Regions from separate parts of the Homo sapiens genome. Here all the other regions are linked to region 1. Evidence: promoter capture Hi-C in human tissues and cell types (Jung and others, 2019). All regions are on one chromosome and are shown on one strand. Each heading gives the region's core, a stretch centred on a gene start or on the middle of the fragment in contact. The rest is flanking DNA. Distances are from core to core; before and after follow the strand shown. Region 1 holds the start of ANXA7 (annexin A7). Region 2 has its middle 19 kb from the start of MYOZ1. Region 3 overlaps FAM149B1 (family with sequence similarity 149 member B1). Region 4 has its middle 2.9 kb from the start of USP54. Region 5 overlaps USP54 (ubiquitin specific peptidase 54).

Region 1 (3,411 bases), core at 598-3,097:
ATTTTTAGTAGAGACGGGGTTTCACCGTGTTAGTCAGGATGGTCTCGATCTCCTGACCTCGTGATCCTCCCGCCTAGGCCTCCCAAAGTGCTGGGATTACAGGCGACAGCCACTGCGCCCGGCCGAGACTTACTTTTCAATGTACTTTAGCCCTTTTAGAATTGTACATATATCATTTATTCAAGAGGCAGATTTTAAACGTTTTTGTAAAAAGCTAAATAACACCCAGAGTGACTCAAAAAATTTCTCAACTTTGCCCAAGTGAATAGTAAGTCTAGAGTTTTTTGGGTTTTTTTTTTTTTTGTGACAGAGTTTCTCTCTGCCGCCCAGGCTGGAGTGCAGTGGCGATCTTGGCTCACTGCAACCTCTGCCTCCCGGGTTCAAGCGACTCTCCTGCCTCAGCCTCCAGAGTAGCTGGGATTACAGGCGCGCGCCACCACGCCCAGCTAATTTTTGTATTTTTAAGTAGAGACGGGGTTTCACCGTGTTGGTCAAGCTGGTCTCAAACTCCTCCTGACCTCGTGAATCTCTCGCCTCGGCCTCCCAAAGTGCTAGGATTACAGGAGTGAGCCACCGCGCTCGGGCTTTTTTTTTTTTTTTTTTAAACATTCTCTGTTAGCAATCACTTTTAAAAGACTAGAAAATCATTTTTGGTTTTCCAAACCACCTCCACCCAGTGAGTCAGTTAGTAAAAGGGCTGGGTCTCACCGTTTCTCATTGATGGCATGAAGCCCAGGAACCCAAGAGGCAGCTGTTGCAAATTTATGGGGGAAAAAATACACGAAACAGGAAGGGTGACTGAAGATACGCGCAACAGCGAATACAATTTTGCAAAACCGGCTTCTAGGTATGGTAGGATCATTTAAATCCGTCAGTGATGTGGAGAAAGAACATGGAGGCATGGCTAGTCCTCTGCACGGACAGGTAGGTAGCCAACCACCAGTGAGGACTGAAAGACAGTCCTCACTGAAAAGGACTGAAAGTTTGCAGTGGCCAAAATTATCTCTTTTACCTATTCAGTGCTTGAAACTCTTTCCTTGCCTGGAAGGTAACTCATTACACTCATCATCTAATTCGGACACATTTAGCAGATTAGCTGGCCATCAGCTGGCAAAAATCAGGGCGTTTACGGCAGTCGGAAGACAACAGCGTCATGTCTGTCACTTTACGGTGGACATCAGCCATCTACCTCTGCACCTTGGTTTCCTTGCGCAGTGTTTGCACAGGATGAGCTAATTTCAACACAGATTTGCTGCTGGTCGGGGAACAGCAATCAAATCTGGAATGCTATTCTAGAATAGCTTCCAAGAACTGTAAACGAGAACCAGTGTACGACCTTGGCCTGGCGCATTCTGTCCTACGGTTCACTAAACACAGTAAAAATTTCCCCAAGTTTCCCTAAATTCGCTGTGTCACCGGAAAGTACAGCCACTACCAGCCAGACGGCTTTCAGCACTGCCCGTGCGTTTCCCTACTCAGCCTCCCGCGAGGCAGCTGGGCCACGCTCCGGCCTCAGCCCCTCCACCTGCCCGAGGGCGGGGCGCCACTGGTCCCTGGGATTTCCAAACGGACGGAAGGGCTTCCCGTAAGCCAGGCCGGCCGCCTCACCCACGCCACCCCAACACACCCCGGCCGGCAGCCCGGCTACGAGACGCGCAAACCGAGTCGCCGCCATCCGGGAGGCCCACACTGCCCTCCAGCCGCGCCCCACTAGCACCGGGACAGCAGCGCCCAGAGCTGGCCGAGGGCAAGACCACCGAGGCAGACGAGGTGGGAAAGGGAGGGGGGCGCCGCTCCTCACCTGACCCCAGCAGCAGCGTCACAGCCCAACCCGGTCTCCCGCAAGATGGAGCCGGGGGCGGGCCCAGGGTGGGCGGGGCGTCTCGCGAGCCCGTTAGGATCGCGGCTGCAGCCGGGAACACCCCCGGAGCCGGAGAGGGCGCTGCGGGGAGCGGGCTGTCCCTCAGTCCCGCCCCTAGGCGCCACCTGAGGGAAAAAGACTCTCCCTTCGGGTGGCCCAGCGGATTTTTAATCACATTTATCTGTCGCAAGGACCCTGCACCAATCCCTTTTAAGGCTGCCTCAAGTCACCTAGGAAGTTGCAGCAGTCCTGGGGGTATCCGGGGCCCCTTCAGTGGCGGGCGGTAGAGAAGGGCTGAGACTGGGAGGCTGGTGCAGCCTCCCCGCCTCTGAAATACCGTCCTCCAGGTATTTTCTGGGGACAAAGACGGCGTTTTTTGTTAGCCTCCTGTGAAAGTAATATTTGTGGGAAATCTTAGTTGGAACTGTAGATGAACTAATCAAAATCACTCCCGAAAGGAGTTGTTAGGTGATTTTAGGCTCCCCTCGTGGCTACAGCATTGAACACACATTAGCATTAAACATTTGAGGCAATTACGAGGGCTCAGATCAATATTTTAAACTCGTTAAGGAATTTATATTACAGAGAAAACCAATCAGCTACCTTTTAGAGTGGTAAAAGGTAGCTTCTGGGTGTGGTCCCCCGAACAGCAGCATCACCTGGAAACGTGTTAGTAACGCAGATTATTGAACTCCACCTTAGACCTACTGAATCAAACTCCCCGGGTGGTGCCCAGCAACCTGTTTTAACAAGCCTTCCAGGTGGTTCTGATGCACACTAAAGTTTGCACATCTGATGCACATCAACTTACTTATTCCTCTACACACTTTTCTACCCAAAAGCTTCCTCATGGGGGTGGAATAGAGTGGATTACGATTTTAAATGGGAAGAGCAAGCAAAATATACGTGGCTTCCAAATAGGTGTGTGGAGTGAAAAGTATTTGAGGCAGGTCATTGCCTCATTTAACAATGGTAGACAAAATGCACAACTCTCTAGGTGACCAGCATTAATTCCCCGGCGCCCAACAGTCTGTCTACCTGGAAAATAACAGGACTTTCTGTCCTACCTACCCCAGAGACCTCCAGGATTTAAGCCTTCCCTGAGAAGCCTACTCTGTTCATTCTAGAGTTCCCTTTGTGAGCTCGTTCCAAACCCTCCCTCTGCCTTAAATACCACCATAACAGGGTATTTGCCAAACCTCTTATTTCCAGCCCACTTTCCTGAGCTGCAGGAATAGTCCAATAGTCTACTACGACATTTGCCATTTCATCCTTTCAATTCATCCTTTCTTCCTGGCATAAAAGGCGTTACAGGATCGGAGACCCTTTCCTCCTGCTACCTCTGCTTAGAAAGCACTGCTCATCTTTTAACAATTACTCATCTTAATTAGACTTGTTTTCAAGGTTGCTCATCTCCGTCTTGCTCCAATAAACTCTTCCTGATCTTCTTTTTTGTACTCAACTGGACCATTTTAATTTTTTAATTTTTTTGGAGACAGAGTCTTGCTCTGTCACCCAGGCTGGAGTGCTGTGGTGCGATCTAGGCTCAC
Region 2 (3,411 bases), core at 312-2,811, 210 kb after region 1:
CTGGGATTACAGACATAATCTCACGTAGATTTTTAAAGAAGCCATTTACAAAGATATAAAATTTGGGGGCCGGGAGTGGTGGCTCACGCCTGTAATCCCAGCACTTTGGGAGGCCAAAGCGGGTCAATCATCTGAGGTCAGGACTTCAAGACCAGCCTGCCCAACATGGTGAAACCCTGTCTCTACCAAAAATACAAAAAATTATCTGGGTGTGGTGGCGGGCACCTGTAATCCCAGCTACTCCGGAGGCTGAGGCCAAGAGCAAAACTCTGTCTCAAACAAACAGGTCGGATGCGGTGGCTCACCACTGTAATCCCAGCACTTTGGGAGGCTGAGGCGGGTGGATCGCCCAAGGTCAGGAGTTGGAGACCACCCTGGCCAACATGGCGAAACCCCGTCTCTACTAAAAATACAAAAATTAGCTGAGCTCGGTGGCACGTGCCTGTAATCCCAGCTACTCAGGAGGCTGAGGCAGGAGAATCGCTTGAACCTGGTAAGCAGAGGTTGCAATGAGCCAAGATTGTGCCACTGCACTCCGGCCTGGGTGACAGAGCAAGACTCTGTCTCAAAAAACAAACAAATAATACAAAGATGTAAAATTTGAATTTCAACCAGAAAACCGTACTTTGGACTTTGGAATATAGAGTGAAAAAAAAAACCTGAAAGCAAATATATAAAAACATGTGACACATACATACATTTTTCTCAATATAAAAAAACTACAGTATGAAGGCGGGGCACAGTGGCTCACGCCTGTAATCCCAGCACGTTGGGAGGCCGAGACGGGAAGATCACAAGGTCAGGAGATCAAGACCATCCTGGCTAATATAATGAAACCCTGTCTCTACTAAAAATACAAAAAATAGCCGGGCATGGTGGCGGGCACCTGTAATCCCAGCTACTCAGGAGGCTGAGGCAGAAGAATGGCATGAACCCAGGAGGCGGAGCTTGCAGTGAGCCAAGATTGCGCCACTGTACTCCAGCCTGGGCGACACAGGGACACTCCGTCTCAAAAAAAAAAAAAAAAAAAACTACTGTATGAAAATATGTTTGACTAAATGCCTTAAAGTCTGTTGTAATAACATTTCCCCTATATATGAATACAGATAACCATTTCCACTACTAAAATGATCACTTGCTGGAAGCTTACAAATATATAATTGCTTGCTACAACTATTTTCCCAAGCATAGCTCCCTATACAATTATACACAGCAGAAATTTGGTAATTTACTCAATTCTCTATATAACAATACAAATTTTGTATTTAGCACCATGCTAACATTCACATTAGTTCCCCATAGGTAGTGTAAATATCTGAGGGAGAAAATGTATGAGTAAAAAAACAGATACCCCTATCCATTTATACCTTCCAAGTCCCACCCAGAATTCTGGTGTCCTGGCCAGTTCCACCTGCAACCTCTCCCCACTTCCTCCATACCAAGACTCCCTCCTTCCCTACAAAAGAAAGAAATCTTTCTTAGTATATTAGAATCACATAAATTTCCCACACCAATCTCTATTCTACCATCTACTAGCTCAATAATCTTTGGTAACTTCCTGAACTTTTTAAGCCTTGGTTTTCTTTAAAGTAACTAGTACCAGCTGCAGAGCAGAGTGTTGTTATAAGATAAAATGAGATAATGTGCCTGGCACATTAATAATCACTCAATGAATGTTATCTATTATTATTATTGCCTTAAGACTGTTGTAATATTTATTTATTTATTTATTTATTTATTTATTTATTTATTTTGAGACAGAATCTTGCCTGTTGCCTAGGTTGGAGTATAGTGGCATGATTTCGGTTCACTGTAACCTCCGCTTCCTGGGTTCAAGCGATTCTCCTGCCTCAGCCTCCCGAGTGGCTGGAATTACTGGCAGGCATCACCATGCCCAGCTAATTTTTGTATTTTTAGTAGAGATGGGGTTTCACCATGTTGGCCAGGCTGATCTCAAACTCCTGACCTCAACTGATCCGCCCACCTCAGCCTCCCAAAGTGCTGTGATGACAGGCCTGAGCTACCGTGCCTGGTCCGTATTTATTTACATCTACAGTAAAGGAGTACTAAAAAAGACTAATAGGACCAGCGAGGTGGCTCACGCCTATAATCCCAGCATTTTGGGAGGCTGAGGTGGGAGGATCACTTGAGCCCAGGTGCTTGAGATCAGCATGGGCAACATAGGGAGATCCTGTCTCTAGAAAAAGTACAAAAATTAGCCAAGCACCTGTAGTCCCAGCTCCTGGAGAGGCTGAAAAGCAAGAGGATTCCTTAAACCCAGGAGACTGAGGCTGCAGTGAGCCGTGATTACTCCACTGCACTCCAGCCTGGGCAACAGACAACTCGTCTTTAAAGAAAAAAAAAAAAAAGGGCTTAAATTATGAACTGACCAGTGAATTTTCTCCTCAAACTTCCATTCTTTTATCTCTTCTGAGAAACTTACTATGTGTTTCACTAAGGCAGCACAGTTTAGTTTGGTTAACACTTTGTAATTTTGAAAACTCTTAGGCTGGGCATGGTGGCTCAAGCCTGTAATCCCAGCGCTTTGGGAAGCCAAGCTGCCAAGGCAGGAGGATTGCTGGGTAACATAGCCAGACCAGCTTAGGCAACATAGCAAGACCTCGTCTCTACAAAAAAAATTTTAATAATTAACTGCGCGTGGTTGCATGCACCTGTGGTCCTATCTACTCAGGAGGCTGAGGTGGGAGGAAAGCTTGGGCCCAGGAGGTTGAGGTGGCAGTGAGCTGTGATGACACCACTGCATTCCAGCCTGGGCAACAGAGCAAAACCCTGTCTCAAAAAAAGAGAAAAGAAAATTCTTACTTTGGGAGGCTGAGGCAGGAGTATCACTTGAGCCCAGGAGTTTGAGACCAGCCTGGCAACATAGCAAGACCCCATCTCTAAAAATAAATCAGCTGGGCATGGTGGCCCTCACCTGTAGTCTCAGCTCTGTTCAGGAGACAGAGGTACAAGGATGGCTGGAGCCCAGGAGGTTGAAGTTGCAGTGAGCCATGATCTTGCCACTGCACTCCAGCCTAAGTAACACAGTGAGACCCTGTTGCAAAACAAACAAACAAACAAATTCTTTGTCCTGTCAACTACTATATAAACTCTTCAGGGGCAGAACCTTGTCTCATACTTTCATGTTCATATATTGTGCTTATTACATTGTAAGTATTTTTTTCTCTATCAGTCTGCCCTCACAGGGTCTGAGCAATTCCAAGGCAAAGATCGAGTTCTACCTGTATTTGTATCCTGAAGGCTTAGCAATCAGACACAAAATAGGTCTCAATAAATATTAAGTGGCTAAATGAATTAATCTTTTTTCACTGCAATGCCTTACACAGTACTTTACACATAACAGGAGTTCAGTAGAGCTTGTTATTGGATTCATGCAGAAATCTTTTGGAC
Region 3 (3,411 bases), core at 631-3,130, 180 kb before region 1:
AGGGCAGCTAAAGCCTAAACATTTTGTAATTAGAAAGCAGTTAGGGTGTGTTAAAAAAAAAAAAAAGGCATAAGTGAATTGCTAGAGAGGCAGGAAGACCAGAACAGTCTCCAGGTTTAGCCCTGTTCCTTGATGGGCAGCATCCCTTCAAAGTCCTCCAAGCACGGTGCCATGTTTTGCACTAGAGGACACCAAAGTGGCCTGAAAGGTTGAGGAACTTGCTGAAAGCTATAGGAGCAAATGGCAGAGCTTAGCTGCGTTATTCTTTCACTTCTCTTCCATTTAATTGTGCGGATACTCTTAGATGTCTTAAAATAGTCAAATGTCCTCTCACTTGCTTTAAAAGAAAAAAAAATACACACCTGAATCTGTAGGGCAGTATTTAAGCTACTGAACTGTTTAGGTGTGGTATTATTTTATTTATTGGACGACTTACAGAAAAGGGTTGTATTTCAGTTATTTATGCAAATAGGGCTACTGTGGTCCCAACAGCTCTGGCTCTGGGCAGCACAAGACCCTTTGCCCACTCCCAGCTTTCCAAAGAACCCAAACCCAAATCCCTGCCAGCTCCAACTTGCTCAGCACTTTAATTGCTACAGTGGGAGCCACACTGGTGCCACAACTGCTCCCAAGCAGCAATATTTGTCTTTCAGTTGTCTTTCTGGTGACAATCTTTCAGCACAAAAGAATGCCTCAAACAGAGTAGGAATCAGCCCCTGTGGCAAATTTTTGGGAAGCACTTTGGAGTAGGTGTCCTTCAGGCTTGCCTTCACTGGTGACTAAAAAAGTGACTGTGATGGCAGGTGGATAATGGACTTGCTTTGCCAAATGTCCATTCTAGTAAATTATGTTTATGATTGAAATAATGTCCCACTTTTAAGAACAGATTCTCATGCCTGAGCTAGAGTACCATCTGGAAACTAGTGTTACTTATTGAAAGGTTTTTATTTTTGCTTTATTTCCCCCTAAATGTAGTTTCTAGTCTAAGGCTTTTTACCCCGTTAGTCTTGTCTTCCTTGACATACTGATCTTTACTTCATTGTGGGTTTCTGATTTGGCTACTAGAGATCTTGATGACAAGCTACTTATGAGGCCTGGGTCCAGTACCATCCTTTCAACTCGAAATTGGCCAAATCGAGCTGTGGAGTTTAGTACATCATCTCTGTCATACACAGTGCAGTCCACCAGGAGACGCAATCCACCACCACGAACTCTTCATCCGATCAGCACGAGCCATTCATGTGCTGAAACACCAAGATCTGTGGAAGAAATCCTCAGAGGAGCCCGAGTGTAGGTTTCAAAAGCAGAACTTCTGGAAACCGTGGTAAAACTAACACATTTTACATACAGAATTAATTTAAATATAAGACTGAAATCTATGCCTAGAAACTAATCATTAAGTAGTCTTATGACAGATTGCCCATGGGTTTAGATCCAACACAAAATTTTTTAATGTGGTTAAATTTTATTTTATTTTATTTTTTTAGATACAGTCTCACTCCTGTCGCCCAGGCTGGAGTGCAGTGGATGATCATGGCTCACTGCAGCCTCAACTTCTGGGCTCAAGTGGTTCTCCCACCCCAGCCTCTCAAGTAGCCGGGACCACAGGCGGGTGGTGCCACCATGCCAGGTTAACTTTTTGTGTTTTTAGTAGAGACAGGGGTCTTGTCATGTTGCCCAGGCTGGTTTCAAATTCCTGAGCTCAAGCAATCTGCCTGCCTCAGTCTCCTAAAGTGCTGAGATTACAGGTGTGAACCACCGCACCCAGCAGGGGTTAAATAATTTTAATGAAATAGATATTGAATCTTTCTGTTGATCTAGCTAAAGAGTTCTATTTGTAAAAATAAAATGTTGGCTAGAATACTATATTGGGGTTACAAAAGGAATAAAGAACCTATTTATTTAATCAAACATTTTCCGTGCTGGGAACATATTCAGTGAAATTCACTCCAAAATAATAGTTAATTCCCCTTTAAGGTTCTTCTGTACCATTGGGATCTGCTTATTCCATTGACAATGAAAACTTCATAAACCTCAGATAAGTAGTTGCTTACATACCAGCAAAAATATCCCTTAGCACTTCCTAGGAAGTGACACTAAAAGTAATCGCCTTTCCCACCCTTCATTCACTACACACTCTGAGCCTCATCATGCAAAAATACCTAGGAGCCAATTTTAAACATAGAATTCTTTTAGCTGTTGATTCACAAAATGTCTTAGGATGATTAATTTCTAAAAATATCCTCAAAGGTATGAGATAATAAGGCCACAGCAGTGTTTTCAATGCGGCTTCCAAGTTAAGCATTATTATGTGGATGTAGCTATATCTATACCAACAGAGCTATAAATGCATTCATTTGGGGATGAGTAGTCTTGATGTATAATTAATCTCTCATTCCTTCTGACAGTACTTTTTTTCAAAGTTGAAAAGTAAGTTGCTTTGTTACTTCTGGGACATGAAAGTATCATTCAGTTTCAATTACTGTCTTAAGGATAAGGAATACTGCAAGCTGCTCCAGATCCTACTGAAGGGAATGAAGGTTTAGGAACTTTACCCGAGAACTATAGTTATTAGGGAAAACGATAACCAGAAGGTCCAGAACTGTCAAGAATTCCATCATCAGCTGGGAATTTACAAATCCAAATCAGCAGAGAAGTGCAATACCAGATAGGGACAAATGTTTTATTCCAGTTCTGTGGGAGAGAAAAGGCCAGCTTCTGTTGTGTACCCAGAGTATAGAGCTTCAAAACAAAATCAGAAAACACTATTTTAAAAACTAATTTTCCAAAAATCCTGAGATCTCTACTTGAAAACATAGGTAGCCTAAAGCTTTCTGTGCACATTAAACTCATCTGCTTCATTTATCTGATTTCTAATCAATTTGCTGGTATTGTTATAACTTCATGCTTTCATACCTTCGTGTTTGTTGGTGGGATCTGCAGCCCAGTGGCACCCGACTCGCTCTCCTCTCCCTCACCGACGCCCCTGAGTCGAAATAATCTGCTACCACCTATTGGCACAGCTGAAGTGGAACATGTGAGCACTGTGGGGCCACAAAGACAGATGGTATGTTTCTTTCATATTGCCTCTCCATGTACTTACCATACAACCTAATGGGCAGTAATTCTGCAGGATCTGTGCCCTGATCTTGATTTATACTGTGTTTTGTCAAAAGTACAAACACAGTGCTAATTTATGACGTGGAATTGGAGCTGTTTGGCCTGCACTTACCATATCTGCCATGGTCGATAGGGTTTTAACTACATACCACATTACAGATAGTTTTCACTGTTTCTGTAACTTTTGTCTCCTCTGCAGAAACCCCATGGCGACTCTAGTCGAGCTCAAAGTGCGGTGGTGGATGAACCTAACTATCAGCAGCCACAAGAAAGGCTCCTTTTGCCCGACTT
Region 4 (3,411 bases), core at 631-3,130, 180 kb after region 1:
TGTTAACCATTAGCATTCTAACTCAGGTCTCCTAGTGGTGCTAGGTGGAGGAGGAGGTAGTAATGCCATTTCAAAGTGTGAAACACAAAATTTCTACTGATAAGTGCTGACTGCAAATAAAGACATACAAACATCAAGACCAAGCTCTTCAATCAAGTCATTAAAATATAGGTATATATTCATTGTGAAACTAATCAAATAAAACTAGAGTACTGGGACAGAGTTACAGAGCTTCAACCCTGATTACAACTAGACAACATTACTTTTCATGTCTCATCCAGGTAAGGGAAGTGATCCACAGGGAAATCTCACTCTAATAGATTGTAATCTCTCCAGAGGCCCCTCAGAAAACACCTCCCATAAAACTCTGCTATGATACTCACATTCTGCCTTGCATAAGTTATTTTCAGACATTTCTTATTCCCTCTTCAAGACTGCACAAGAGGTTCTGTGCCAAATAGAAAGAGAACCCTGTATCAACCACTGGGCTTCGCCATTCAAAATAAATTGGGTAACTACAAGTTTTTGTTAGGTGAGTGTCAAACTGCCTGTAGAAAAGGTTTTATAGGCCGGGTGCAGGGGCTCACGCCTGTAATCCCAGCATTTTGGGAGGCCATTGCGGGAGGATCATTTGAGCCCAGGAGTTCAAGACCAGCCTGGGCAACACAGGGAGGCCCCTTCTCTACAAAAAAAAAAAAGAAAGAAAGAAAGTTTTTAATTAGCCTGGTGTGGTGGCACGCACCTCTCTGGTCCCAGTTACTCCAGGCTGAGGTGGGAGGATCCCTTGAGCCCAGGAGGTCAAGGCCCCAGTGAGCAGTGATTGTGTCGCTGCACTCCAGTCTGGGCCACAGAGCAAGACCCTGTCTCAAAAAAAAAAAAAAAAAAGGAAAAATAAAAATAGAAAGAAAAGGTTTTGGGTACATGATTGCTAACTACGTCAAGAGGGAGAGTGATACATAGTGTTTCAGATTATTATTTTTTAAAATAGGGTTTTAGTTTAAATGTTCAGGTATTCTAAAGTTGGATGACTAGTTACAACAGTACTTTGTAAAACTGTGCTTCAACAAAACTTAACAAGTCATATTTTTCAAGTACTTTGCAGGGAATATGTAACACCACAATAGGTCCACCTTAGACCAGAATAGACAAAGGTCTCTGAAAAAATATAAATATTATTAGCAAGGAGAAACAATATTTAGGATTTGAGTAAATCAATCAAGAAAAATCCTTGGAGGGTAGTGGGGAGGGTAATGGAAAAGCACAGGCTGAAAAGTCCTATTTGGTCACATTCCGTAGCTTTTCATTATTGGTTTCTACTAGCAAATAGAGTAAGGTACAACAGAATGTTCAATGCATTGAAAGAACATTTTGCTTCTCTTAAAAGTCATAAAAGAGAAACAGAGGATTTCTCTAAGAAAAACCAAAATAACTCCCTCTGGAGTAACCCCAAAGTCAAACCATCATTGTCTTTTATTTCTGAGATGCTAATGATAATGCTGATGTCGGCAGTAAAGGCAGGAACTGAGTGGCTCCGCAGTAGGAACACGAGATTGGAAAATAAAAGACTCTTTTTTTTTTTGAGTCCAAGTCTTGCTCTGTCACCCAGGCTGGAGTGCAGTGACACGATCTCGGTTCACTGCAACCTCCACTTCCCAGGTTCAAGTGATTCTCCTGCTTCAGCCTCTTCAGTAGCTGGGATTACAGGTAGGTGCCACTACACCCAGCTAGTTTTTGTATTTTTAGTAGAGATGGGGCTTCACCATGTTGGCCAGACTGGTCTCGAACTCCTGACCTCAAGTGATCCACCTGACTCAGCCTCTCAAAGTGCTGGGATTACAGGTGTGAGCCACTGTGCCCAGCCAATAAAAGACTCTAGATTTTAGAATGTAGTGACAAAATTTGGGAACTTTTTAAGAGACAGGTTCTTCCTCTGTTGCCCAGGCTGGATGCAGTGGTGTGATCACAGCTCACTGAACCCTCAAATTCCTGGGTTCATGCAATCTTCTACCCTCAGCCTCCCGAGTAGCTGGGACTACAGGTGTGTACAACCAGACCCAGCTAATTTTTTAAAGATTTTTGGAGACAGGGTCTTAGTATGTTACCTAGGCTGAGACTTTTAAATAAACTGGAGGATTGGGGTGGGGAGGGGTGGGGAAGAGACTGCTTTATATCAAATGAAAGCCTTTATCATTTGATCCTGGGGAGAGGGGAAGCTTAATTCAGAGCTGTTAAACTGGAGTTCTAGCAAACAAAAATTAGAGACGGACTTGATCTTAGCTAATAAGGAACCTAAGAGAAAATATTCTAGCCTTTGACTCTAGGTTGTAAGGAAGAATATACCATGAAGTAGATGAAAAACAGGGAAAACTACATAACTAATTTGAGTCTAGTGGGTTTTTTTTTAACTTTTTTTTTTTAATCTTGGTTTTGTTTGAAGACAGAGTCTCACTCTGTCACCCAGGCTGGAGTATAGTGCCATAATCTCAGCTCACTGCAATCTCTGCCTCCCGGGTTCAAGTGATTCTCCTACCTCAGCCTCCAGAGTAGCTGGGATTACAGGTGCACACCACCACACCTGGCTAATTTTTGTATTTTGAGTAGAGATGGAGTTTCACCATGTTGGCGAGGCTGGTCTCAAACTCCTGACCTCAGGTGATCCACCCACCTCAGCCTCCCAAAGTGCTGGGATTACAGGCGTGAGCCACCAAGCCCCACTGGTGTTTTCTTTTAAAGACAGAGTCTCACTATGTTGCCCAGGCTGGAGTGCAGTGGCTAGTCACAGGTGCAATCCCTGTGCAATCAGAGGTGACTCTAGTTTTTATTCTGAGATTTATTCACAATGTTGGCAGAGCATGTGTACCTTAAAGAGCTGGTTGTTTCACTCAAGTATGCATTACTGAGAAGAGGAATATTGCAGAAAGGGTAGAGGGAAGAGAAAAAAACTGATCCAAAGAATACATTTTGGAGAAACTTTGGCTGTTAATCACAGACCTGAGCAGCAAAATCATACAAGAAATCTCTATATTTCTCATATAAATGGACTCTAAAGAAGAGAGGGAGATAGGGGCCACACATTTGGGCTTCTAATTATAGCATCATTATTGTTTAAATTCATTTATTTAACTATATCTTGCATAATTCTAAAAAGTATATCAAATAGCATTATGTCATTATGAACATTAACCACCCTGTCTATAGAACAAGGGTTTTTAAAAGTCTTGGACTGGACTTAAAGCTCCTAGAAAGCAAGAAGAGTATGAAAATCCCTCTCAAGCACACCAAAGAATTACCTAAATGCTAGTCTTACAGAAAGTAATCAGCCGGGCGCGGTGGCTCACGCCTGTAATCCCAACACTTTGAGAGGCCAAGGCAGGCGGATCTCTTGAGGTTAGGATTTTGAGACCAGCCTGG
Region 5 (3,411 bases), core at 263-2,762, 160 kb after region 1:
AACCTATGACCCTAGTCTAATCATGAGAAAAGCATTAGACAAATTCCAATAGGGGAAGGGGGATATCCAAAAAAATACTTGATCAGTACTCCTCAAAACTGTCAAAGTTTATCAAAAACATAAACATTCTGAGAAAATGTCACAGCTAACAGGAGCCTAAGAAGACATGACAAGTAAATCTAAATGTGGTATCCTGGATGAAATCTTGGGCCAGGAAAGGACACCAGGTAAAAACTAAGGAAATCTGAATAAATTGCAATTTTTAGTTAAAAAAGAAATGATGTAGTATATAGCATAATGCCTTAGGAAGCTCCCCCTTGCTAGGAAAACATTTAATGTCATAATACATGAAAAAGCATAATTTCTGGAGCCCCAGATGACAGCACACCTCCGGAGCTTCTTCTTACTTATATGTCTCAAGATACACACTCTAAAAGTTCTTTGAAACTGGCTATGCTCCCAAGTAAATAACACCTTTTTATAACAAATGTAATAGGTTCAACTCATCTGTGGTAAACACAGCTTTGAAACCAAAAGTTAGAATATTAGCTCATAACAACAATTATTTTCAACATGTAACATGATTATTATAGGGACTCCAAAACCATCAATGCCTCAATCATTAAGTATGGATACAGAAATATGTATGTGTATATATATTATGTATTGTATATGGCACTGGAAATTAGAATGGGAAATCATAAATAGTATTGTTTCAACTGACAATATAAATAGACCACATAGAAAAAAACAATTACAAAAATGGGACTATGGCCAAGACACGGGTAAACAAACACATTTATATCAATGCCTTATTTTGCCTGCTTCTAAATCACAAAAGTATTATCAGGATACAAAGTAACTAAAAAAACTAATATGTGGCCAGGTGTGGTGGCTTATGCCTATAATCCCAGCACTTTGGGAGGACAACGCAGGATGATCATTTGAGCCCAGGAGTTCAAGACCAGCCTAAGCAATTATAGTGAGACCCTCTCTCCACAAACAATTAAAAAAAAAAATTAGCTGCGTGTGGTAGCATGTGTCTGTTGTCCTAGCTACCTAGGGAGGCTGAGGTGGGAGGACCGCTTGAGCCCAGGACGTTAAGGCTGCAGTGAGCTATGATTACACCAGTGTACTCTAGCCTTGGCAACAGAGTGAGACCTCTGGCTCCAAAAAAAAGAGAAAGAAATAAAGAAAGAAAACTAATATGCATCATCCAGGACAAAAACCTAACCAACTCCACCTAACTACATGAAATTTGGGTAATAATTAGGGAAAGCACTTAAATTTTTTCTATAGGCTTGCCAGCACATAATTTTTTTTTATTGTTTTCGAATAAAAACTTAAAAACTGAGAAAGAGGCTGGGCACAGTGGCTCACGCCTGTAAGCCCAGCACTTTGGGAGGCCGAGGTGGGCAGATTACCTGAGGTGAGGGGTTCAAGACCAGCCCAGCCAACATGGCGAAACCCCGTCTCTACTAAAAGTACAAAAATTAGCCCAGCGTGGTGGTGCACAGCCTGTAATCCCAGCTACTCAGGAGGCTAAGGCAGGAGAATCGCTTGAACCCAAGAGGCGGAGGTGGCAGTGAGCTGAGATCCCACCACTGCACTCCAGCCTGGGCGACAGAGTGAGACTCTGTCTGAAAAATAAATAAATAAAAACTGAGAAAGAGCATGAAACTTTTATTACCTAGATAAGCTTGGCAACATTCTTGTATTATGAATGAGGAAACTCAGACACTATTACCTGTACAAAGTCACAAGACTAGTCTACAGAATGGCTAAAACTACAACCCAGGTCTCCTCCTAATGCCCAGGACCATTGTTCTTTATACTAAATATCTTGTCTTCTCTCATAGCAACCCATTTTCTCATAACATCTGAGGAGTGAAGCTAATATTTTACCCAAGTATAATTATCTTGGGTGGCAAATTTCATTTACTTTTACACTGAAGAGCAGAAAAGAAGAGAAAGTAATTACTTGAAAGTTAGGCCAAGGGGGATGAACTTAACATGCTATGGGCGTGACTGGGCAGAGCAGACAGACAGAAAGCTTTGGGATTCTAAGATCACTCAAGTGGCAAGCAACAGTGAAAGGGAAAATGTAGGGTAGATAATCAACTTAAGGGAATTCACTTTCCCCTAGCTCTGTTCAAGTGTATCTGACTAGACACCAGTTATGAGCCAAAACAGGAGAGCTCAAAGAGAGGAGATAAGTTGGACAAAGACTAGACTCCATTCAATATGTGGGCCAAAAGCCTGAATATTAAGAGACGAGATTAACATACCTGAAAGTCTTTGACTTGTGGAAAGAATTTTGCTTCTATACTAGAGAAAAGCAACTAGGATAACACACCTTACTCCCGAAAGGAGAAACAGAAAACAGGCCAGACACCTGTAATCCCAGCACCTTGGGAGGCTGAGGCAGGCGGATCACTTGAGGCTAGGAGTTCAAGACCAGCCTGCCCAACATAGTAAAACCCTGTCTCCACTAAAAATACAAAAATTAGCCGGGTGTGGTGATGCACACCTATAATTCCACCTACTTGGGTGGCTGAGGCATGAGAATTGCTTGAACCCAAGAGGCAGAGGTTGCAGTGAGCCGAGATCGCTCATGGTCCCAGCTACTCAGGAGACTGAGGCAGTAGGATCACCTGAGCCCTGGAGGTCAAGGCTGCAGGAGCTGTGATTGGGCCACTATACTCCAGCCTGGGCAATAGAGTGAGACTGTCCAAAAAAAAAAAAAAGAAAGAAAAGAAAAGAAAAGAAAAATAGGAACCTGTAGAGACTGTTCAGGAAAAAAAGTTGATAAATAGAAAGATAGGCCAGGCACGGTGGTTCATGCCTGTAATCCCAGCACTTTGGGAGGCCAAGGCAGGTGGATCACAAGGTCAGGAGTTCGAGACCAGCCTGGCCAATATGGTGAAACCCCGTCTCTACTAAAAACACACAAATTAGCTGGGCATGGTGGTGGGCGCCTGTAGTCCCAGCTACTCGGGAGGCTGAGGCAAGAGAATCACTTGAACCTGGGAGGCGGAGGTTGCAGTGAGCCGAGATTGCGCCACTGCACTCCAGCCTGGGCGACAGAGCAAGACTCTGTCTGAAAGATCACCTGGTCCATTTACCTCCCTTTAGGCATGTAAATAATAGTAGTTACAGTTATTATTATTTCTCTTATCATTATTAATCCCTCTTTTTTACAAATGAGGTAATTGAGATTCAAAGAGATAAAGTGACTTGCCAAAGATCACACAGATAAATGTAAAAATTATCTCAGGTTACTAACCTCAAACAGAGACTATCAAACATTTTATTTAAAAAGAGTTATCAGAAATACAGCATCAGCAATTAAAAGTCAAAGTTCACCAAAAATAAAGAAATGACCCTTACCTGCAGGGCACTGTTGAGGAA

The links. The method cuts DNA at HindIII sites, captures the fragments that hold promoters and counts their contacts. A contact is called where the count stands out against the background at its distance.
Region 2: a fragment that was not itself captured here is called in contact with the fragment with the promoter of ANXA7 in region 1 in 2 of the 25 tissues and cell types used here (IMR-90 fibroblasts and dorsolateral prefrontal cortex).
Region 3: a contact is called between a fragment that was not itself captured here and the fragment with the promoter of ANXA7 in region 1, in 1 of the 25 tissues and cell types used here (hippocampus).
Region 4: a contact is called between a fragment that was not itself captured here and the fragment with the promoter of ANXA7 in region 1, in 1 of the 25 tissues and cell types used here (dorsolateral prefrontal cortex).
Region 5: a fragment that was not itself captured here is called in contact with the fragment with the promoter of ANXA7 in region 1 in 2 of the 25 tissues and cell types used here (hippocampus and mesendoderm cells).

The regions. Positions count from the first base shown.
Region 1 is chr10:73,412,211-73,415,621 of GRCh38, forward strand. ANXA7 (annexin A7) reads right to left here and starts at 1,848. Exons shown (of 13, transcript NM_001156.5): 1 at 1,802-1,848. RefSeq lists enhancers at 862-981, 992-1,071 and a silencer at 1,472-2,031. The HindIII fragment of the contact is 7,160 bases long and covers 1-3,411 here.
Region 2 is chr10:73,620,589-73,623,999 of GRCh38, forward strand. It overlaps a transcript of USP54 not described here. Among named protein-coding and RNA genes, the nearest start is that of MYOZ1, 19 kb to the right of the region's middle. The HindIII fragment of the contact is 4,845 bases long and covers 1-3,411 here.
Region 3 is chr10:73,231,874-73,235,284 of GRCh38, forward strand. FAM149B1 (family with sequence similarity 149 member B1) reads left to right here. Exons shown (of 14, transcript NM_173348.2): 10 at 1,066-1,290; 11 at 2,944-3,067; 12 at 3,320-3,411. It also overlaps a transcript of DNAJC9 not described here. Among named protein-coding and RNA genes, the nearest start is that of DNAJC9, 14 kb to the right of the region's middle. The HindIII fragment of the contact is 5,885 bases long and covers 1-3,411 here.
Region 4 is chr10:73,592,510-73,595,920 of GRCh38, forward strand. It overlaps a transcript of USP54 not described here. Among named protein-coding and RNA genes, the nearest start is that of USP54, 2.9 kb to the left of the region's middle. The HindIII fragment of the contact is 7,322 bases long and covers 1-3,411 here.
Region 5 is chr10:73,572,122-73,575,532 of GRCh38, forward strand. USP54 (ubiquitin specific peptidase 54) reads right to left here. Exons shown (of 24, transcript NM_001391956.1): 3 at 3,391-3,411. Among named protein-coding and RNA genes, the nearest start is that of USP54, 18 kb to the right of the region's middle. The HindIII fragment of the contact is 3,296 bases long and covers 1-3,160 here.